Linked DNA regions of Homo sapiens: all the other regions are linked to region 4. The links are contacts of gene promoters, found by promoter capture Hi-C in blood cells and fetal thymus (Javierre and others, 2016). All regions are on one chromosome and are shown on one strand. The core of a region is centred on a gene start or on the middle of the fragment in contact, and the rest is flanking DNA. Distances in the headings are between cores, read along the strand shown.

Region 1 (5,730 bases), core at 639-3,138, 190 kb before region 4:
AGGAGGCCTCGCCCTTGCACCTTTCATCTGCAAGAGTTACTTTTACATTTATTTTAAATGTTGATTTAAGTATATACTTCATCTACAGTTATCCATATAAATAGATTCATTACAGGGCCTGGCTCTGAATAAACACAGTAAGTTGGAGAGGCTTTTTCATTGATCTGGTTCTACACTGGTGGCTTTATAACATAGTGCTTTGACACCTCTTGCATTGTGTTGCTGGTGACCATTGGGGTGGGATCAGGAAGGGCCCAGTAGCTTCTGAGCTCCCTAGCATTCTTGTCCTGAAGGAAGCCAGCCTTTGCAGAAGGATCCCTCTCCCCAGGACGGTCAGGCTGGCGGGGTGTTCCTCGATGGCAAGCCTGCAGACACCTACCCTCAAAGGCCCAGGGAGCTGAGAGGCCGAAGAGAGGCTGACAAGTCTAGTTTCTTAGAAAGAAAGTTGTAATAGGGACCTGGGAACAGAAGCCGTGTCCTGCGTGGCTGCAAGACAGTGGATCGCCACCCCATTACCCCCAGACCCTGGGCTTCTGTGCCATAGGGGAAAAGGTATAGGAGCTTCAGAAGGAATTTACCTAAGGGCTGGATTTACAGTAAACAGCAGATGAAATAGAAATCTTAGAAGCATTGATGGGACTGAGGCTCAGCATTGGCATCCAAGATGGAGTCTCCACAGGAGACCGCCCAGAGCCGCTCCAGCTGACACCCACAGCAGATTTCCATAACCATAGGTCAGTTTCAGGATCTCAGTCCTAAATCTGGCTTGTTCTTTTCCATTTTTTTAATTACTCCATTTTAAATATAATATTTTTGTATCTTTTAGGTAATATTTTTATATCTTTATTCTTTATTCCCCCAAAATTTTGTTTTCTAAATGTATTTCTTCCTCCAAATGAAACTGTTTTTTCAGGTTCAATAAGTAGAAATATTATGTTTTTTTAGGAAAAAAAATTGACAACGTTTAACATTTGAGCCTTTCATTTTAGAATACCATGCATCTTGCAATACCTTCCTGCTTTTCTGATGGTATTCAGTAGAATAAATTTTATGCATCTTTCATATTTTCTGTGAAATTTATTCCTGGATATTTTATATTTTGGTCAGGGATATTTCCAAGTATTGTACCTCTAGTCTTTACTGATAGACTAGTTAATAGTTCAATAGAAGACTATTGAGTTTGCCTTTTTTTTTTTTTTTAACTCTGCCTTGGTGGTTTATTATTTATGGACTTAGAGGCTTGGGATGTTGCCACCCATGTGGCTGTGAGAGACAGAGGAGAGCTGGCTTATGATTGGCTGACGGGAGTGACCTTGGACTAGGCCACAAGCCTCCCTAAAAGATGTAGAGAGAGCAAATCGCCAGCCCTGTCCCATAACTCCAGGGCGAAGCTGGAGAGACGAGGCCCAGGAAGACAGCAGCTAGTCACCCCTTCCTCTCCTTATGCTCTGCTGTGCTGTCTGAGTTCACTGCTCAAAGACACAACACTGAGAAGCCATGAACACAATGGTGACTAAAATAGGGAACAGACATTCCTTTAATTACCCATACCTGCTCTCACCCTTGGTGCTGGGATGCCAAGTGGGTCACTTCCAAATCCTGTCACCTGAGGCTTATGGGGTCGAGTCAGATGTGCTCAGGCCACTGTGACATCAGCTGGGGCTCTGGCTCCCTTGAGACCAGGTCAGGCTCATCTGAACTCTAGTCTCAAGCTTGGCTGTACATGGCGTCACTGGGGAGCCTGGCTGCACATGGCAATCCCATGATCCCAGTCGGAAAAGTTGATCGTGTTCTGGGATGGGACGTGGACATTGGATGTTTAAATACTCCTCCCATTGCTTCCCCAAGGAACCACTGGACTATAACTCAATTAGAGTCCTGGTCAAAGTCCAGTTGCTCCTAAAACATCTGCAAATTGCAGCAGGTAAAGATAGTCTCATGGTCACATCTGCCTGTGGACACACTTTCCGTGCCAGGTATCTCTGCAAACGTGTAGCCCTTGATTTCCAGTAAATGAAACTCAACAAAGCAAAAGCAAACGGAAATTCCTTCCACCAAAGCTTTGTTTGGGGCAATGAAATTTGTCGGTGATTTCAGGAAATCACCTCCTGCCCTGTGGAACAGTAACCCCCACTTCCTCAAACCCAGCACTGGGTATTTCTGTCCTTGAAATGCCCTTGGCTTCCCTCCCAAAGGTAGTTGCCACTTGACCTTCACATTCCACCCCCTCCCCCCCCCACCAGTCACTGGCCTGATTGTTCCCCTGCCTGCTCTTCGCCGTGGCATTCCCCATCTGTCCACGCATCCTCTCCACTGAGTCCCTCAGCAAGTCCAAAGGCTCCTTTGTGGGGTAGAACCACTCAGCTCTTTGTAGACTTCCCCACACCCATCAAGGTGCTTATAAACCAAAGGCCTTCCTAGTGAACAGGACCACCTTCTTTGTGAGGGACTTGAGATCACTAATAGCAACAGTTATTTATTTATCTATTTATTTTACCCAAATCCAGGACCCTGATGAAAAGACTGAGGAAAATGCTGCCTTTCCTGAATGGCTACCAGGCAGGGAATGATGCTGGGAAGTGTTTACCCCACAGGCTCTGTGCCTTCTCTGACTGGGCAGCTCATGCTGTATGCATGGAGGCATCATTACCAAACACACCTCTGAGGCCAGCGGCCAGCGTCTGACTCACAAGCCATGACTGCCCCACCTTCTTACAACAACAATAGCAGTTTCCCCGTGAGGATTCACCCCTCCTCCCCTCTCACTCCGCCTTTTTCCAGGGAAGCTGACTCTACCCTTTGGACCACAGCTTGGAGCACTTGACCCTGGCTAAGCTGGTCAGGGCAGCGGGTCTCCCTCCCCTGAAGCCTCATGATTGGCATGAGGACAACACGTGACCTATGTGTGGCTGCCCAGGACCCACATAGGCTTAACGGTGGGATTTTGTTTGACTGTGTGATAAGTGGGTTCTTCCTTCCCTGCTGAGTGTGAAGATAAAAAAGACTTGAGGTCTGGGGCCCACTTGGAGCCTGTTTGAGAATGAAGCCAAGTTATGGGAAGCAACAAAACTGAAGAGACAGCAAGGAAACCAGGCCTGGTGGTGCACTCCCAGCTATTCTGGAGGCTGACGCGGGAGGACTGCGTGAGCTCAGCAGTTTGAGGCTGCAATGAGCCATGATTTCACTACTGAACTCCAGCCTGGGCAAAAGAGCGAGACCCTGTGTCTCAGAAAAAGAGAGAGAGAAACAGAGAGCAAGGAGCAGGTGGGTTATAATGGAGTCCCTGCACCAAGCAGAGCCTGATGCCCGCCCTTGCTCTGAACTTCCTAGTTATGTGAACCAACCACCAGGCCAGTTGGGTTGGGTTTCCAGCCCTGTGCTCTTGTCTGTCCTCACTGACAGACAAAAATAACTCATCAGTCGGTTCTCAGACCCACAGTCCCATGACATTTCTTGACTGTTTCAGAAGTAATGCCTCAAGGACCAGCTTGCAGAAAGTGGAGGACCTGCCCCCTGGACCTTACAAGTAGCAGGCCACTCTTAAAAATGCAAGGACCACAGATGTCACCATGACTGAAAAATAGAGGCTGGCCCTGCCTCTGAAGATGCTGCAATGGACTTGTGTTCAAGGAGAAATTGGCTGTAACTTCCCTTATTGAGATATAATCGGGCTCATCGTTAAGCTGTGGTCAGCCAGAAGTGTAGCTGTGCCCCTGGGATTGAAATCAGCAATCAATCTGGACATCCTTTTTCTATCTTCATGAGGCACCTCCCCAGTACCAACCAAATTTCTTGGGGATCCCCCGGGACTTCTCATAAATGGAATTGATTTGAACTCAGGAAACCCTCAAATAGGCCAGAACAACTCACTAATTAAATTCATCCCCTCCCAAAAACAAAAACAAAAACAAAAAAAAACAACACACATGATAGGAAAAAAATTTTGCAAATTATATATCTGATATAGAACTTGTATTCAGAACATATAATGAACTCTTACAACTCAATAAGACTGGTAACCCAATTAAAAATTCTTTTTAAAAAAACCAATTTAAAAATAAAGGCAAATAACCTAATTTTTATATAACTCAAAGTTTTTAAAGAAACAAACCAATTTAAAAGTTCCAAAGGATTTGAATAAACGTTTTTCCAAAGAAGATATGTAAATAGCCAATAAACGCATAAAAACGTGCATAACACCATTAGCTATTAGGAAAAGGCAAATCAAAACCACAGTAAAAAGCAGCTTCAAAGCCACTACATGGTTGTGGTCAAAGAGACCACAAATAACAAATTGGAATCTTTATACATAGCTGGTGGGAATGTAAAATGGTGCAGCTGCTTTGGAAAACAGTTTCACAAGTTTTCAAAAGGTTAGACCTACCATATAACCTAGCAACTCTACTCATATTTATATGTCAGCTACAAATAAAAACATTAAGTTCACCAAAATATTTACACATGAAAGTTCATAGCATCATTATTAAAATCAGAAAAAAATATATTAAAAAAAACCTCAAATGTCCATCAACTGACGAATGGATAATCAAGATATAGTGTTAGTCTATTCATACAATGGAAAATGAACGGGCATAAAAGAGAATGACATGACCCGTGCTACAATGTGGAGCAATCTTGAAAATGTGCTAAGTGAAAGAAGCCAGCAAGCCATGCTGAAACAAGTCAGCATTCATACAATATGATTCAATTTATATGAAATACCCAGAACAGAAAAATGTATAGAGACAGGCTGTAGATTAGTGGTTGTCTAGGGCTGGGGGCAATAGAAGGCAGAGTGACTGCTAATAGGAAGTTTCCTTGGAGGGATCATGAAAATGTTCTAAAATCAGATTATACGTCCATTTGCACAATTTTGTGAATATACTCGGAACCACTGAATTGTATACTTTAAGTGGGTGAGGTATGTGAAAATTAAATGTCAGTAAAGCTGTTTAAAAAAGTTTCATCCCAAAGCTACATTTTACCTAAGGCAAATGTTTACTACCGCTTCTCTTTCAGTCCCAAATAATTTCCAGCCATATGTTCCAGTCAAGCCTCGACAAAATTAAACAACACCACAACTTACTCCAGTTACAAGCCAATGTGCAAATGCCCCAAACTTGACCATAAATTTACCACCCAACCCCCATCGTCTCATTCCCAGGAAAAACTAAACACAAGATCAACTCCCCTTGCAAGTTGAAGTCCTGACATTGAAGTCTAAAGAAATCACAGCCCACAATAAAATTCTTAAAGTGTACAAACAATTCTTCTCAAATTCTTATTTGGCTCAGTCTCAGGCTCTCAGCCACTGAGATCCCCCAGCCTTAGTGCATGCGTGACAGGTGACAGTGCAGTGCCTGTAGCCCATTTCTCACAGTGATTGGATGTATTTTTTAAAGGTAGAGAATCCCAAAGTGCAGTTCCTGGACCAGCAGCAGCAGCACCACCAGAGATCTTGTAAGAGATGCAAGTTCTTAGGCCACACCCCAGCCTGTTGAATTAGAAACCCTGGGGCGTGGCCCAAGAATGTGTGTTCACAAGCTGTGAGACAAAGTAGTAAACATGAGAAGCAGTGTGTGCTCATGCCTACTTGCAGTGAAATTTTGGAAAGTCCTTGATTCTTTCCTTGTGTTCAAGCCCCACTCCTTTCCTCTTCTTACGCAGTCACTGCATTTTGCCCAAGGGATACCCTAAGGAAGGATATAAATCAGTCACTTCCAGTCTGCT
Region 2 (5,933 bases), core at 100-2,599, 130 kb before region 4:
AAGTCTCCTGTGAGGAGACACTCGGGACCACCCCAGTGTTGGGTCAGGCAGCATGACTCTCTTCACCTGCAGCTGTCTTGACCTGGCCAGTGCTGTGCTAGTGTGGACAGATGCAGTGATGCTCTTCCCAGGCCTGGCCCTGCTGTGATCTGGGAACATGGTATGGGACACAGTCAGAACAGTTCTTGTAGAATCAGTCTCCCTGACTTGGGACTGAACTTTCTATTCTGTTATCTGGCAACAATGCTAGGTTCTTGCCTATATTGCAGCACCATAGTCTTCTCAGCCAAACTCAAAGCTCTCACTTTTGCATACTTCACCTGTCCTGCACTATTTAATGTTCATTCTTACAGCAACAAAATATTATTATTTCCTCTTTCAGGTTAGTTATTGCCAGGAAATTGATTTAAAAGTAACCACCTAGTATCACCTAAGTGCTGGCAAAATAGCTCACTCTAGAACACCAAGAAGGATGGTCAGATGGAGACAAAAATGATCAAGGGGCTGAAGAATGGTCCAACCTCTATCTCACTGAGGCAGAAACATGTGATCTCCCAGAGAAGTGTTTAAAAATTTGGTCTAGAATGATATTCCAGTCTAATAAAACATGAGTGTGTGTGGTGGGGCTGCAGATGTAGGGCGGTGGGCCCTGTAGAAACCTTGGCTCTGGCTCAGCTGGAACCAGGGCTGACAAGGTTTAGAAATGCAAGCAGGGCTGGGCTGGGCATGACCAGGCTGGGGCCTCAGGACTTGGGTCTCTGTCTTTCCTGCCCTTTTCTCACAATACTCATTGTCCATCCCAGGTCAAAATGGTTGATAAAAATTGCCATTTATTTTTTTCATTTTTTCCCTTGGTTCACAGAGTACAACTGTTGAGGTATTATACAACAAAAGAACAAACTGATATCTTAGTTATTTTTCTGAACAACGGAGATCCTCTCTTCGACGGGGTGAAGGAGGGGAGAGTGAGAGTCGAGATGTCCCCAGGTCTTATCTCAGTTCGCTGTGGGAGGCGAAGGCACAGAATCATCCAAGGACACCAAGCACCTGAGGACAACCAGAACCTGTGGGTTCTGAAGGAGCAGCCTTCAAAGCTAGTGGCAGAGGGTAGCTCCCCTCCTGCCTGTGGCTTGTGCTGGCCTAGAGAGTATAGGGCAGAAGGATGGCAGATGAGTGACTCCACATCCAGAGCTGCCTCCCTTTAATCCAGGATCCTGTCCTTCCTGTCCTGTAGGAGTGCCTGTTGCCAGTGTGGGGTGAGACAAGTTTGTCCCACAGGGCTGTCTGAGCAGATAAGATTAAGGGCTGGGTCTGTGCTCAATTAACTCCTGTGGGCACGGGGGCTGGGAAGAGCAAAGTCAGCGGTGCCTACAGTCAGCACCATGCTGGGCCTGCCGTGGAAGGGAGGTCTGTCCTGGGCGCTGCTGCTGCTTCTCTTAGGCTCCCAGATCCTGCTGATCTATGCCTGGCATTTCCACGAGCAAAGGGACTGTGATGAACACAATGTCATGGCTCGTTACCTCCCTGCCACAGTGGAGTTTGCTGTCCACACATTCAACCAACAGAGCAAGGACTACTATGCCTACAGACTGGGGCACATCTTGAATTCCTGGAAGGAGCAGGTTGGTGACCACGTACCCTCCTGCCCTGGCATCTGGCATGTGCTGCTCAGTGAAAAATGGGAGTGGGGTGGGGACAGGGGGTCTTATTGAAGAGTCTTGTTCACCAGTTGTAGTCCATACTTAAGAAAATACAAGGTAGTTTAGTTAGTTTTTGATTTTGAAAACATCTAAGTTAGAAATTTCAAATAATTTGATCCTAATCAACTCTCATGAAAAACATATTGTTTAATCTCCATCTTTTTATGACATTATTTAACTGAAGAATGACTTCAAAATGAGGACTACCAAGAAAATGAAGATACGGAATAAGGAAAAGGGCTGAACAGAAAATGTGAATAGAGAGAAATTGAGAAATACTTCCAAAAAATGTAATAAAAAAGAGATAATTTAAAAAATGAAAATTAAAAAAGAGAACAGTAAGGGTTCAGGAGCAATAAGAAACCCCCACCAGTCCCAAAAGACCTCTGGGTGGTCAGTTCCTCTTTGCTGATTTCCAACTTCTCTGAGCTCCTTGGTGTGTCTGCACTTAATAAACTGAAGACTGTTTCACACTCTTCCTCAGACCACAGGTCTTAATCCTAAATGTTCTCCTTTTAATGAAGTCACTACAGAATGCAATCAGGAATGCACAGTTCATCTGTGCTGTAGGCATGAACAATGAAAATAGTCACCAAGTTGAGGACTTTTTTTTTTTTTTTTTTTTGAGATGGAATCTTGCTCTGTCACCCAGGCTAGAGTACAGTGGCGTCATCTCCGCTCACTGCAAGATCCGCCTCCCAGGTTCAAGTGATTCTCCTGCCTCAGCCTCCCAAATAACTGGGATTACAGGCACCCGCCAGATGCCTGGTTAATTTTTTGTATTTTTAGTAGAGACAGGGTTTCACTATGTTGGCCAGGCTGGTCTTGAACTCCTGACCTCATGATCTGCCCACCTCGGCCTCCCAAAGTGCTGGGATTACAGGCATGAGCCACTGCACCCAGCTAAGTTGAGGACTTCTAGTTGGGTAGAGAGGCAAAAATGCTCTTCCTACCTCATTACTGAAACCTTGCAAGAAGAGCAAAAGGACCCCAACCCTGCACCAAGCTTCAGCCTCTGGAAAGACCCTGTGCAAGGCCCTGGCTGGTTCTCTGACCCCTGCTCTCTGGGCTGGAGCCTGCCACGTGGGTTCCTGGATGTGACAATTCCAGAGTCAGTTTTGGAGTTGGGGAAATGGACGGATAGGGAGAAAGGAGATGGAATGAAGTGAAACTGAAAGGAGTGAGAAGATCAAGGTGCACTTTGCAATAGGGCAGATGGTGTTTCTTTCTTTCTTTCTTTCTTTTGATATGGAGTCTCACCCTGTCAACCAGGCTGGAGTGCAATGGCACAATCTCAGCTCCCTGCAACCTCTGCCTCCCGGGTTCAAACAATTCTCCTGCCTCAGCCTCCCTCCCGAGTAGCTGGGATTACAAGCACCTGCCACCATGCCCAGCTAACTTTTGTATTTTTAGTAGAGATGGGTTTTCACCATGTTGGCCAGGCTGGTCTCGAACTCCCGACCTCATTATTCACCCACCCCAGCCTCCAAAAGTGCTGGGATTACAGGTGTGAGCCACCACACCCGGCCCCAGATGGTGTTTCTTGAAGCCATTGTCCCAAGGATGTATGCCTGTGTGTAGTGGGAGTGCTGGGTGGCATTCTTGCATTTTTTTTTTCCTCAGGTCAGGTGGAAGGTTTGACAACATGCCCTAGATGAGGCTCCCTCTGTCCCAGGGCTGAGGTTACCCTGAAAGCTCTTGGAGAGCCAAACCCCTCCCCAGGCACATAGCGCCATCCTCTGGAAATGCAGCTGCAGGTTCAGACACTGACTGAGAGTGAAACTGGGGTCTCACCATGGGAGAGTGGGAAGTGCATCTGGAAATAGGGATACATTCATGGGTGTCTGCCCTGGGGCCACCATGCCCATCCGCTTTTTGTTCTTAACTGCCCAATCTAAAGAAGATCTCCTGATGCCAGGCCCATGGGCAAGCTCCCTAATGGAGGAGAATGTTGGGACTTCTCCTACACAAATGACATCTTCACCAGCAGCTACTTAGGGGCAACAAGGAGGGTGTGTTCACATTAATCTCTCTGTGTGCAATAGGTGGAGTCCAAGACTGTATTCTCAATGGAGCTACTGCTGGGGAGAACTAGGTGTGGGAAATTTGAAGACGACATTGACAACTGCCATTTCCAAGAAAGCACAGAGCTGAACAATGTAAGACAGGACACCAGCTTCCCTCCTGGATACAGCTGTGGATGCCACATGGGGTGTGGTGTGGGCACAGGTGCAACTGACAAAGAGACTTAGAGGAGTGAGCCTGCAGCAGCCTCTACCAGGCTGCCCTGCTTGTGCCTTAGTGGGGAGCGCAGAGGGGCAGGCAGCTAGGGGTCCACTTGCAGGCTCCTGGCCAATCTGAGTTTATCAACTCTGCCCTGTCATGCCACTGCAGCTGCCTGCACCCAGGGCACATGGCCTTCAGACTGCTCTTTCCCCCTGGGGTCCCAGTCTCCTGGGTCCAGTAAGAAGTGGTCCCCTCTCTGGTCTTCCTCCCCTGCCTTCTGGAAGAACCTGGGATCTGACATCACCTCTGTCTGTGGATGCAGTTCTCAGGGTTTCCTTACCCTCCCCTAGACCCAAAAGTGGTAGAGGCTGAGAAGGAGCCCCACTACCCTCCCTCCCAGGCCCTGAGCTGAGCTGCAGCACCTGCTCTAGGGGACAAGCTCCAAGTAAAGCCTGGCTCTGGGAAAACTCTTCCTATGCTTAATCAACACCCTTATTGTAATATTAAAAAATAGGTAGCTGATTGCTTAAATCTGGGAACTGCTTCCACTGGGACAATGCATTCTCCTGCTGCTCTTGGGTGCAGGGATCACACCAGGACAGCCCGGGGTTCCCCTGAGGGCCACTGCTAGGGAGTGGGGAACATTGCACAGGCGCCCCTGGGTCAGAAAAGAGTTGCAGTTCAGCTCAAATCTCCAGAACAGCCCAGGACTCAGGCTTGGGGGCAGCACATGATAGCCAGAGGCCCCGTCTTCCCACTGCTTGACCTGGGAAAGGGCAATGTGGAGAGGAAGCCATTGTTCAGAGCTTGAGCCATGAGCTTCCTGAGCCTCCCTCACCCACTGTCCCTTCCTGTGCTTGTTCTCTCAGACTTTCACCTGCTTCTTCACCATCAGCACCAGGCCCTGGATGACTCAGTTCAGCCTCCTGAACAAGACCTGCTTGGAGGGATTCCACTGAGTGAAACCCACTCACAGGCTTGTCCATGTGCTGCTCCCACATTCCGTGGACATCAGCACTACTCTCCTGAGGACTCTTCAGTGGCTGAGCAGCTTTGGACTTGTTTGTTATCCTATTTTGCATGTGTTTGAGATCTCAGATCAGTGTTTTAGAAAATCCACACATCTTGAGCCTAATCATGTAGTGTAGATCATTAAACATCAGCATTTTAAGAAACTTTGTGTGCTGTAGTTCTCGATAAAAGGGGCTGGGTGTTTGATGGAGTTATTCTCACCAGGGCAGACAAGTAGGATCTGGGTAGATGGACTCCTGAGCCAGCTCCAGGTGGCACAAGTGGTACATCTGAGCTGCTGTCTCAGGGATCACGGCCAATAACCCACGTGGCCAGAGGTGCAATGACTATCTCCTCTCAGGCACCTCATGTGCCTGGATAAGCTCAGACATGGTGTTGGGCTCCCCTGGTCTTGTGGCCTCTTCTCTTGAAGAGTGGCTCACATGCCTTTCCTGATCCTCAGCATGTTGGTGGGCAGAAGAAAGACTTCTAGGCTCACCCTCGTAAAATGGTCCTGATGTGTGAGGCAGCAGCATCTTTGGAAAATCTCTTAGAAATGTTGAACCTCAGGGCCTCCCCGCCTTTGGAAAATAAGTCTGCATTCTCGCAAATCCCCAGGGGTTCATGAACCTGGATAACAACATAAGAAACATGAAAGAACAGCATCAAGTAGGATGGAAGTTATATAAGATATGAAGGTATAGGATTTGTTTAAGAAACAAATCAAGACCAAGATACTTTCTCCCAGAGGAGAGGGATTTCCCAGTATGGGATGTGCAGATGCATGGGAGAGGTAGGAAGGGAGTGAGAGGGCTTCAGACTTAGCAGAGGATTAACTAACTGCTTAACTTCTGAACCAGCCTAGGTAGAATGAAAACCTTCAGGAATATAGGAATTAAATTGCCCACTTTTCAAGTTAAATTACATAGGACATTTTCACAATGTTTATTATAATAAAAATCCTTGGAGTGATGTCAATAAGGTGGCAGAATAGAA
Region 3 (5,420 bases), core at 2,584-5,083, 240 kb before region 4:
ATCTTCCCCTTTAACTGTAACCCACACTGATTGGCCCTCTCTCTTCCCTTTCACAGAAACAGTTGTGCTCTTTCGAGATCTACGAAGTTCCCTGGGAGGACAGAATGTCCCTGGTGAATTCCAGGTGTCAAGAAGCCTAGGGGTCTGTGCCAGGCCAGTCACACCGACCACCACCCACTCCCACCCACTGTAGTGCTCCCACCCCTGGACTGGTGGCCCCCACCCTGCGGGAGGCCTCCCCATGTGCCTGTGCCAAGAGACAGACAGAGAAGGCTGCAGGAGTCCTTTGTTGCTCAGCAGGGCGCTCTGCCCTCCCTCCTTCCTTCTTGCTTCTAATAGACCTGGTACATGGTACACACACCCCCACCTCCTGCAATTAAACAGTAGCATCGCCTCCCTCTGAGTTCTTGGCTGTCTGGGGATGTGCACACAGGCAGAGTTTCTGCAGTTCCTTTATGAAGCCTCCTTGTCCTGGTGGTGTGGAGATCACAGGAGTACCTGGGAGCTGATGCGGCCACAGCAAGGCCATCAGGGGAGCTGCTGCCACTTTTGGAGACCTCAGCTTCAGAACAGGGAGAGAGCAGCCAGGGGCTGGAAACCCAAGCCTTCAGCTGCAGCAGCCCCTGGCGAGGGGGTCAGGGAGAGGAGGGGGCCCAGGCAGCTGCCCCAGAAGCTGGGCTGGTGCTTTGGTCTGAGGTCCTGGTCAGACCAGGAGGAGGGGGCTGGTTGTGTCCACAGGCAGGGGCCAGGCCTCGGTGGAGCTCGCCAGGACGTAGATTCCATCTGTGCTTGCAGAGTGGAGCAGACTCCAGGGACTGAGCTGCTCTCATCAGATCCCCTAGACACTAAATAGACAGCGATTGACGTGTAGTTCTTTCCACAGGAGACTTTAGGACCCAACATGGAAACAAAGTCCAAAAGTGTGTGTGTGTGTGTGTGTGTGTGTGTGTGTGTGTGTAACTGATTGGGAAAAATGCCACCCAAACCAAAGATGGGCAGGATCACCCAGAGAAAGCAGAGCCTGCTGTCATCCATCCTGGGAGGGTGTGCCCCAGGCTGGGAGGTTGTCTCCTACGCTAGGAAGCTGTGCCCTAGAAGGGTTTTACACATTCTCATCCAGCCGCCCTTTCTCTAGACTTGGATTTAAAACCAGCACTCAGGTCAGGTTTCTTGGTAGGGATGGAGAAGCTAAAACACAAATGGAAGTGACATGCAGTGGACACTCGATTTTTTTCACAAAGGATGTTTTAATTAATAAATAACATCACCTTAGTGTCAAAACCATTCTGTAGAATAGTGGGTAGTTGCACTCCAAAGAAGAGGCTACAGTCCTAAGAGCCCGCCCACCCTGCATGGCCTTTCCCATTGCCATTTCAGGGCAGAGGGGTGCAGCCCTCAGGGCAGGTGCCTGTGGGAAGGGCTCTCAACTATCTTCCATGCCAAGAGCTGTGTTGACCAAGAGTGGCTGCCATGAACACCGAGGGGGAAATGACAAAGGGGAAACTGCCCAAACAGCCCTGAGGCCAGCACCCCATGTGCCGCACATAGAAAGCCAGGAGGAGAATGATCTGGTAGGGATAGTGGGGAGCACCTCCTTCATTTCCCCTCCACCCCCACGGGATTTAACCAAGGTTTTGGGTTGAAAAAAGTGAAGCAGCGCCCAGGAGGCCATGAGCTGAGGAGAATTGAGTCTGGGTCTCACCCGGTGTAGGGGGGTCGGGGGGTGCACACACTGATTCAGGCTTCTGTTGGAAAAGAGGGGCTGAGAGCAGAACAGCATGTGCCCAGGAATCGTGGTTAGGGGCAAAGTCTTCCCTGCATGGAGATCCTCATGGTTCTCTACCTGGTGGAGGGTCTGTCTTGACATAAGCAACCACCATCCAAGGACACAAGGAAAAGGTGATTTTCTGTAAACCAGTAACTTTTCTGACTTCTCTCTTCCTGGGGAAGTGGAGGGGAAAGTCTGGCTCTGTAGAGGGCTCCCTCCACCATCTCCCTGTGTGTCTGTTCCCTAGGTGGGGAGCAGGGGACAGCGAAGCTTGAAGGTGAGCATGTGGGTCTTTGTCTTCTGCACCAAGCTGAGGATCTGGGCTCTCTCTGGAAGCTACCGGGTTTTGGGAGTAAAAAAGTCTCCTAAGGGTCATGTTTTGGAAATATTGCACCCCTTCTAAGAGTTCCTTTAGCAAAAATAATGTCACATATTCTTGCTAAAAGTGTAAAACCACAGAGGTTAGAAATTCCACCTTCAGCATAGACAAATCACTCTGGAAGGAGAGATAAATCCAATGGAGGCCTGGGAAGCAGGAACAAGTGCGGTCATTCCTTGGGCAGGTGGATTCTCAGCACTATGACCACAGACAACCCAGGTTCCGTGAGGTCTGAGGCTTACATAATTCAGAGGGTTATCTGCATGAAAAATAGCATAATATAACCAATTTGAAACTAAGCACAGAAGTTAGTGTTTATTTAAGAAGAGGAAATAAGTCACAACAAATTACTCATTTTAAAGTCCTAATAAATACAACAATCATCCCAAATTCCAGAAAAATGATATACATCCTAGTGCGATCAGTCATCAAAACTGATTTTGCAGTTAACAGACTCAAGATTATTGGCTTATTGCAAAAAGGGAATAAATTCACATCAAGATATCTGGGATGATTCAAAAAACAAAGCAAAGAGGTTACTATAAGACTGTGGGGAGGGATTTTTGAGGCTGTAGTGATGGACTCAGAGCATGGCAGGCCTCAGTGTAAAGCAGCCAGTGTCAAGTCTCGTCTGCAAAGTGGACCTAGGTCCTGTGTCTTTAGAACCCATAAAGTCCAGCCAGATGTGGAACGTTCCATCCAGAAACCCCTTCTCTGTAGCTCTGTGCTTCTGTGTAAAGGTGGATATAGATCATCCAGGCAGTGGGATGTTCTTCTTACTCATAAGCAAAGTTTCTGACAGCCCCTGACACTAGAGAATAAGGTCTTCCATTGAGTCAGAAAGCAGTCCTCAGCCAAGGAAGAGGCTTCCTGACTTTTCAAACCTGCAGCTTGAGAGAAACATTGTTTCCTGTTCATGATGTCATTGGCTTTGTCCTCATCAGTCCATCCATGCACCTTGCAGATGAAAGGGCAGATTTGCCCTTCCTAAATTTGTGTTCTTTTTACTTGCTAACATAGCATTTTTATTAATTAGCTACTTGACACAGCAGTGTAATAAGTTATTTCTATGTTTTCATAGTCAACTATTGAGTCACAATTTGCCTCATCACATGACATTGATTTTATAATAGAATTTTCTATAAATATAGCAGAAAGGTAAACCAGTCTTTCCACTCAGTTTGATCACTTTAAAATTCTGATAAATACTACAATCATCCAAAATTATGAAATACTACAATCAATCCTACTTGTGAAAATCATGGTTTATAACATTTTCTTTCTGCTTCAAAACTCACATTGGTAATATTATGCAAATTTGTCTGGTTGTTGTCTAATTTGGAAAAGCTTCCAGTTTTCTTTCATGTGAGCACTAAGATTTTAGTACTTTCTAAATTTTCTTGACTTAAGATTGATGATCGTTAAGACTCTATTGACAATGATCACTAATCACAGCATTTTAAAACTCTCATTGTTGTAGTGGGCTTCAAAATTGTGCAAATGTATAATTATATCCTATATTGATTACCTTATGGAATGTGCAGAAAGAGTTTGTCCTGAAAGAAGTATTTCTTCAAGCCATCTTACTGTTGGTCAAAGTTTTACATCTGTGTTGTCTGGAGCTGTCAGATTTCATCAGGATAAGAGGAGGATGGAGGCCAAGTCTGATCCATCGGGTCTGTGTCACCTCACAGGCATACATCCTTGCTGTGAGCAGTTCACTACACAGTTCTGCACCCTACAAATGTGAAAGTCAAGAAATCCTATCTCATTAAATTCCTGTAAAAAATAAAACAATTTGGGTCTCACTTGGGTAAAATGAAAAACGAAATAACATAAAATAAAAACAAACTTCATGATACACTAACTATTGTACATACCATATTAGTGAGTACATTTTCATGAGGATAACACTTTCATTTTTGACTAGGTGTCGAAAGAACCCAATCTTTTGGGGCCTATTTTCAGCATTCTTAAAGACAATAAATTCCAAACAAAATTTCCTATCCCATCAAACTAAGCTTCATAAGCAAAGAAGAAAAAAAAATCTTTTCCAGACAAGCAGTCACTGAGAAAATGTGTTACCACTAGACCAGCTTTACAAGAGATGCTTAAACGAGGTCTAAAGATGGAAATAAGAGAACAACACCTACTGTTGCAAGAATACAGTTAAATGCATAGTTCAGAGACAGTAGATAGCAACAACACAATACATACTACAAGGAAAACAGCTGTCACCTTCATGATAGGATCAAAAACTCACATATAAATATTAACCTTGGGCCGGGCACAGTGGCTCGCACCTGTAATCCCAGCACTTTGGGAGGCTGAGGCGGGTGGATCACAAGGTCAAGAGTTCGAGACCAGCCTGCCCAGCATGGTGAAACCCAGTGTCTACTAAAACTACAAAAAATTAGCTGGGCATGGTGGTGCACACCTATAATCCCAGCTACTTGGGAGGCTGAGGCAGGAGAATCACTTGAACCCAGGAGGCAGAGGTTGCAGTAAGCCGAGATCGTGCCATTGTACTCCAGCCTGGGCAATAGAGCAAGTCTCTGTCTCAAACAAACAAACAAACAAACAAAAAATATTAATCTTGACTATAAACAGCCTAAATGACCCACTTAAAAGGCACAGATTACAAGTTGTATTTAAAAACCCAGACCCATCCATCTGCTGTCTTTGAAAAGATCCATCTCACACATAATGACACCCATAGTCTCAACAAAAAGGGTTGGAGGGAGATCTATCACACAAATAGAAAACACAAAAGGGAGAGGTTTGCTATTTTCACATCAGATGAAACAGACTTTAATCCCAAAACAGCAATTTAGAAAGGACAAAGAAGGGCATTACATGATGACAAAGGGTTCAATTAAACGAGAAGACTTAGTTATTCTTAAACATGTGCACCCAACATTGCAGCCCCTAGATTGATAAACAAGTATGCCCAGGCCAACAAAAAGAATTAGTCACAGAATAATAATGGGGTACTTCAATATCCCAATGGCAGTGTTAGATAGATTATTGACGTAGAAAACTAACAAAGAAATTCTGGATTTAAATTTGATACTTGACCAATTGGACCTAATAGACATCTACAGAATACACCACCCATCAACCACAGAACATACTTTCTTCTCATGGGACCACAGAGCATGCTCTAAGACAGACCACATGCTCAGCCATGAAGCAGGTCTCAATAAATTAAAAAAGGAAAATCATACTAACTGTAATCTCAGACCACAGTGGAATAAAAATAGAAATCAATAC
Region 4 (6,211 bases), core at 849-3,348:
AGTCAGCCCTCTGTACTTACGAGCTCCATATCTGTGGATGCAAACAACCGTGCATCAAAATATTCAGGAAAAAAAAATGTATGGTTGCCTGTATACTGAACATTTTTTCTTGTAATTATTCCCTAAACAGTACAGTATAATAATTATCTACATAGCATTTACACTGTACCACTTATTATAATTAATCTAGAAATGATTTACCATATGTGGGAAGATGTGCATAGGTTATGTGGAAACACTATTCCATTTTACATAAAAGACTTCAGAATCCATGGATGTGGGCATCCTGAGGGGTCCTGGAACCAATTCCTCATGGACACCAAGGGGACTGTATAGTTTATTATCTGACCTTGAGGAAATGTTGTACCAATAAAAGGGGTTCCCTAACAACTTTTCTTTCTTCTATTATCCTTCAATTGATATATTTCAGAGAAATTTTATATGTAAAACAGAAGGTGAGGTGATCTGGCTGAACCCTATCTCTCACATCCTCTCCACTTCCAGAATAAACCCTCTGTATAATTTGAAGTTTGTATAACACAGAACACCCAGTTTTGAATTTTACAACCCTACACATTGAAAAAATATTGGGGGCTACAGGCCTACAGAGAATATTTGTATTTTGCCAAATGAGAACTTTAAAGGGAGCAAAATTATCCTTGCTGTCACTCCGGCAGGGTCAAATATCAGAATGAAAGGCATTTCTTCCCAAGGAAAAAGAGCTGGCCGGGCGTGGTATCTCACGCCTGTAACTCCGGCACTTTGGGAGGCCGAGGTGGGCAGATCACCTGAGGTCAGGAGTTCGAGACCAGCTTGGCTAACATGGTGAAAACCGGTTTCTACTAAAAATACAAAAAATTTAGCCAGGTGTGGTGGTACGTACCTGTAATCTCAGCTACTTGGGAGGCTGAGGCAGGAGAATCACTTGAACCTGGGAGGAGGAGGTTGCAGTGAGCCAAGATCATGCCATTGCACTCCAGCGTGGGCAACAAGAGCGAAACTCCATCTCAAAAAAAAAAAAAAAAAGAGTTTAATCCTCAGTGAACACTTTTGCCTCTAAGTGTATTGGAGTTAGAGTTCATGCCAGTCCTTAGGAAAGCATTTTGGAAGCATGGCTAAGGACATTCTGGGATCTGAACAACTCTACAATGTACCTGCTACAAGTGAAGATGCTTCCCCCTTGGGACCTCACGGAGGACCACCACTTGGTTCTCTTGGGAGCTACCCCAGAATCCTCACATGTCTGAACTGGCAAGAACAGGGCCTGCTGATGTCTTGGGAGAGCAAGGTACAAACCTGCATCTGACTTCGAATTAGCCTCTGGACTCGATATAAGTAGGTGTCGTTGCTGGCATTGTTGTAGGATTGAATGAAGAAGTTGAGTGTTGAATTCATGTTCTTCTTGCTCATGAGCTTCTGCTGGAAGCCCTCCCACCTTTGGAAGTGACCCAGCTTGGCTGACAGGACCAGGGCAATCAGCAGCAGCAGGGGGTTTCTCCAGCATCCGATCCCCATGTCTACAGCCTCAGAAACTTTCTTCCCAACTGCACCTTCCAGGGTGTGGTGGTGCCAGGCTGCAGTTCACTCATTCTCCCATCATAACCCTCACCAACATAGGCTTTCCTGGGGGATGGCCTGCCTGCATTTAAACAGAGATTCAGACCTGAACCTTGTCACTCAGTTTCCAGCCAGTTCATTTTCTACCCATTTACACCACCCATTCAGTTCTTTGGTGATCCAGGCAAGCAAAATTTTTAAACACCTGCTAAGGCGTGCAAGCCCCTCTCCCTGCCTTCACATGTCTCAGGGAAGAAAAGCCCCAGAACAGCCCCTACAGTGCTCTGCAATAAGAGCTGGGGTTGTAGATAGAGAAGCATCACTTACAGGAAGGGAGGCGGCCTTACGGAGAAGGTAATATCTGAACTGAGATATAAGGAAGCAGTCATATGGAGCAAGGAGTGGTACATTATTCTTACCTTCCTTGGGTTCCAACTGTCTTACAAAGCCACCACCTGTTCCCTGTGCTTCCTTTACAGACACGTTCTCCTTGCTCACCTGCCGCCCGCCCACCACAGATTTCTGCTTGCAGGATCCCCCTATACCTGCAGGCCCTGCACTGGCTTTTGCTATCTTGTTGTGACCCTAGTGGAGCTTTGTGAGGTAATTGCAGCCTCCCTATGAGGGAGGAATAAACTGTGAGCCCCATTTAGAAATTATCCGCAGACCCCTGAAGATTAGGTGTCACTTACCCCCAAAAGCCCATGAATGCCCTATTTTAAAAACATTTGCTGGCTGGGCGCGGTGGCTCACGCCTGTAATCCCAGCACTTTGGGAGGCTGAGGTGGGTGAATCACCAGAGATCAGGAGTTCGAGACCAGCCTGGCCAACATGGTGAAACCCCATCTCTACTAAAAATACAAAATTAGCTGGGTGTGGTGGTGTGTACCTGTAGTCCCAGTTACTTGGGAGGCTGAGGCAGGAGAATCACTTGAACCCAGGAGGTGGAGGCTGAAGTGAGCCGGGAGGGTGCCGCTGCACTCCAGCCTAGGTGACAGAGCGAGACTGTGTCTCAGAAAAAAAACAAAAAACAAACAAAAAAAAACACCTTAAATGGAATCCTACCAGAAAAAAACATTAGTGGAATAGTTGATGAAATGTGAATAAAATCTGCAGATTAGTTAATAGTATTGTGTGAATGTTGATATTCTAGTTTTCACCGTTGTACTGTGATTGTATAATATGTTAACATTTGGGGAAGTGGAATGAAGGGTATACGAGAATGCTTTATGCTATTTTTGCAGCCTTTGTGTAAGTCTGAAATTATTCCAAAATAAAGGTTAAAATGTCCAAAACTAAATAAAGCGTTGTTCTGTGAGGAGTAGCGTGCTGAGGGAGGGGAAGCAGGAGACTTAGGATCCAACTGTCCTGGCTCAAGTCCTTCGCTGGGGACTCTGGGAGAGTTACCTCATCTCCCTAAGCTGGGTTTCTTCACCTGTAATATGAGAATGGGGAGAAAGACTCCACTTGAATTGTGGTAGAGACTAACTGGATGTAGGCAAAGAACCTGCTCCCAAGTCAGGTGTCAGGTGCATAAGAATGTCTTCTTCGTGATTCTTCTGTGACTCTGAACCCACACTTCACCCATGGCCTGTCATGTCCCGGAAGCCAGGCCACCTTCCATCATGACAATGTTGCTAGCACCAGTCACAACATCCTCCCTTGGCCCCAGAGCCTGTCTTGAGAGGACTTGTCCAGCCGGTGGAGGTGATACATTTGAAATTCCCTGAGCCTGAGCTGCCGAGGGCCACTTGCTGTAGAATAGATAATGAAGGATTCCGAGTAATCCGGGAAGCCACACAGACCTGTGCCGTCTCAGCATGCCCCAGACACCTGGGATACCCCCATCAGGCTGAGGCCCATAGAGAGGAAAAATAACATTGGGTGGGCCATATTAGAAACCCCATGGATGTGGGGCTCAAAGCATAAACAATAAATCTGCTTAAGAAATATGGGAGTTGGTTGTGTCCATAAAGAGGAAAATGAGTCACTGGCAATTTTAATTGAAGAAAAGGAAAACATAGACCCTGACTATGCCACAGAAAGAGATGTGAGGCGCCTAACAGGTCACACTGGCGTTCCTTAGCTTGTGTCAGCAAAATGCTGATTTCTGACTCTGTGGACATGGAATCAGGAAAAAAATATGATTCTGGTAAGGTACATGTATAAAGGGAGACAGGGAGCTTGGTTACAGCATGGAATAGGGGCAGAGCATAGTGGCTGACACCTGGGAGGCTGAGGCTAGGAGGATTGCTTCAGCCCAGGAGTTCCAGACCAGCCTGGGCAACATGGTGAAACCCCGTTTCCACAGAAAATACAAAAATTAGCCAGACATGGTGGCCCACATCTGTAGTCCCAGCTACTCTGGAGGCTGAGGTGGGAGGATCACCTGAGCCCAAGAGAGGTCGAGGCTGCAGTGAGCTGAGATCACACCAAGCACTCCAGCCTGGGCGACAGAACAAAGGGAAATAGAGGGCTTAGTTGTTGTCTGGTTACTGCCATGAAACAATGGAAAAATAGGGGCCTGAGTATTTCCGTGGAACAAGAGTAAATTAGGAGTGCTGGCTATAACAAATAGGAGCCCTGTTCTTGCCAATAAAAGAAGGGAAAAATATGAGCTCTGGTTAGACCATGGAATAACAGGAAATATGAGGTCTGCTCATGTCTGTGGAATAAGGAGCATAGGAGAGAAGGATTGCAGAAGGGCATGAGAAAACTTCAGGTGATAGATATGTCTGTTGTATGAATTGTAGTGATAATTCCACAGGTGCATACGTATGACAAATTTCATCAAATTGTACACTTTAAATATGTGCAATTTGGCCAGGCGCCGTGGCTCACACCTGTAATCCCAACACTTTGGGGAGGCCAAGGTGGGCAGATCACATGAGGCCAGGAGTTCAAGACCTGCCTGGCCAACATGGTGAAACCCCATCTCTACTAAAAAACACAAAAATTAGCCGGGGAGCACATGCCTGTAGTCTCAGCAACTCTGGAGGCTGAGATGAAAGGATCGCTTGAGCCCTGGAGGTCTAGAATGCAGTGAGCTGTGATTGTGCCACTGCACTCCAGCCTGCCCAGCAGAGTAAGACCCCGTCTGAAAAAAAAAAAAAAAAAGAAAGAAAGAAAAAGTATGTTTCCCAGGAGTCCAGCAAACTGGGCCTCCTGTCTCATAAGCTGAACCTGGTAACAGGCCACTGCTGGACCAGGCATGATGGCAAGTGTGGGATTCCTGTTGGATCAACCCGTGGCTGGGTGCTGTGTGGGCGAGATGGTGTGTGTCCCACAGAGGCCCCCTATGAGCTGCACAACTTCCTGGTTCTGTCTGTTGACGACCAAGCTCAGGATTTCTTTATCAGTCCAGCTCCTAGGAGAAGCAGGAAATAAACAAGAACATGATGATGTGTTTTATCCCAGCAGGCTCTGCTTATGTGGGCTGAGGAACCTGCAGACAGGGAGCTTCCTGGCTGTAGTTCTTCATCACTCCTTCACCAGTAGATATGGCATTGGTGCTGGGAAAGGGTCACACTGTGACACTCTCTTCATCAGCCGACATCTGCTATCTGAAATTTTCTGATCATTCTGGGGAAACAAATAATCCTCTGTAAACAACACGGCTGATCTCGGTTGGTTTCTTCTCTCCACTCTATTTTTTTTTTTTTTTTTTTTTTTTGCATGTAGCACTATTTGACAAGCTCTTCTTTGTCCCCTAAATAATCCTGTTCTAGGCTGGCTGCTGACCTGGAGATAACCCAGGCAGAAAGCAAATCTATTTGCGACCCACCTGCTGCTGGGCACCCTCCAAACATGGCCCAGGAAGGAATGGTCAGCAGTCTGTGCCTGCTTGAGGAATCTCCCAACTGTGGCTGCAGGGCAGGGGTAGGGGAGCACAGTCCATGCTGCCAGCAGCAGCTCCCACTGCAGCCCTGAGCCCTCGCCCCCAGGGCAGCAGCAGAAGAACATGGCTGATCTTGGCTGGAAATGCCTTCTGATTCTGGGGAGCAGGCCAGCAGCAGGCGCACAGAAAGTCAGCAAACAAGGCGGTGCTACAGATGGCTCCAAGCTGGCATCGCTCCAAAGGTCCCAGGGTACATTTTCTCTTTCCAGACACAGAAACATGAGAAATCACAAGGCTTAAAAAGTGAGAGCGTGTCACAAGAGGCCAAGGATGCCCAGAGTGGAGGGGCTTGTGGGGAGGTCATCGTCCTCATCCAGCCTTTGGTCTCCTTTCTGCAGACGTTTTCCACAACACAATATCTGTTTACCAGCTCTTAAATAGTCATCAGGTTCCATTTTGAAAGCAAAGAAAAAGCAGGTGGATTCTGCAGGCTGCGACACTCCTGCTTCCACCTTCTCCTGCGATCTGTCTGGTTTTCTGTAAGCAGATGCTTTTCCCACTGAAGCAATGAGCAGCAAAAGCGGAAGAGGGCCAAGAGTCTGTTGAAATCTGTAATTAAGTCTTCAAGTTCAAATCTTTTGCCCATTTTTCTGTTTGGTTGTCTTCAATTGATTTGTAGGATTTATTTATCCTTCTTGCAAATGTCATCCTCTGGGTTGTGGTTGTCTTTTCATTTTATTTATGGCATGTTGATGAAAAAATATTCTTAATCTTAATGGAAAGAATGTATTGATTTTTCTTTCTTGTGGTTTGCAT

What was found. Contacts are between HindIII fragments. The CHiCAGO score rates a contact against its expected background, and 5 or more counts as called.
Region 1: a fragment that was not itself captured here is called in contact with the fragment with the promoter of CSTL1 in region 4 in 5 of 17 cell types (M0 macrophages, fetal thymus, megakaryocytes and 2 more); the score reaches 7.0 in M0 macrophages.
Region 2: a contact is called between the fragment with the promoter of CST9L here and the fragment with the promoter of CSTL1 in region 4, in 4 of 17 cell types (M1 macrophages, fetal thymus, M0 macrophages and 1 more). The highest score is 8.5, in M1 macrophages.
Region 3: a contact is called between a fragment that was not itself captured here and the fragment with the promoter of CSTL1 in region 4, in 1 of 17 cell types (M0 macrophages). The highest score is 5.4, in M0 macrophages.

What each region holds. Positions count from the first base shown.
Region 1 is chr20:23,626,243-23,631,972 of GRCh38, reverse strand. It overlaps a transcript of CST3 not described here. Among named protein-coding and RNA genes, the nearest start is that of CST3, 8.8 kb to the left of the region's middle. The HindIII fragment of the contact is 348 bases long and covers 1,715-2,062 here.
Region 2 is chr20:23,563,900-23,569,832 of GRCh38, reverse strand. CST9L (cystatin 9 like) reads left to right here and starts at 1,349. Exons shown (of 3, transcript NM_080610.3): 1 at 1,349-1,622; 2 at 3,746-3,859; 3 at 4,796-5,101. The coding sequence starts at 1,383. The coding sequence ends at 4,885. The HindIII fragment of the contact is 6,864 bases long and covers 1-2,708 here.
Region 3 is chr20:23,680,614-23,686,033 of GRCh38, reverse strand. It overlaps CST4 (cystatin S), which reads left to right. Exons shown (of 3, transcript NM_001899.3): 3 at 57-394. The coding sequence ends at 140. Among named protein-coding and RNA genes, the nearest start is that of CST4, 5.7 kb to the left of the region's middle. The HindIII fragment of the contact is 674 bases long and covers 3,497-4,170 here.
Region 4 is chr20:23,435,572-23,441,782 of GRCh38, reverse strand. It overlaps CSTL1 (cystatin like 1), which reads right to left and starts at 2,098. Exons shown (of 4, transcript NM_138283.1): 1 at 1,977-2,098; 2 at 1,297-1,639. The coding sequence starts at 1,515. The HindIII fragment of the contact is 9,312 bases long and covers 1-6,211 here.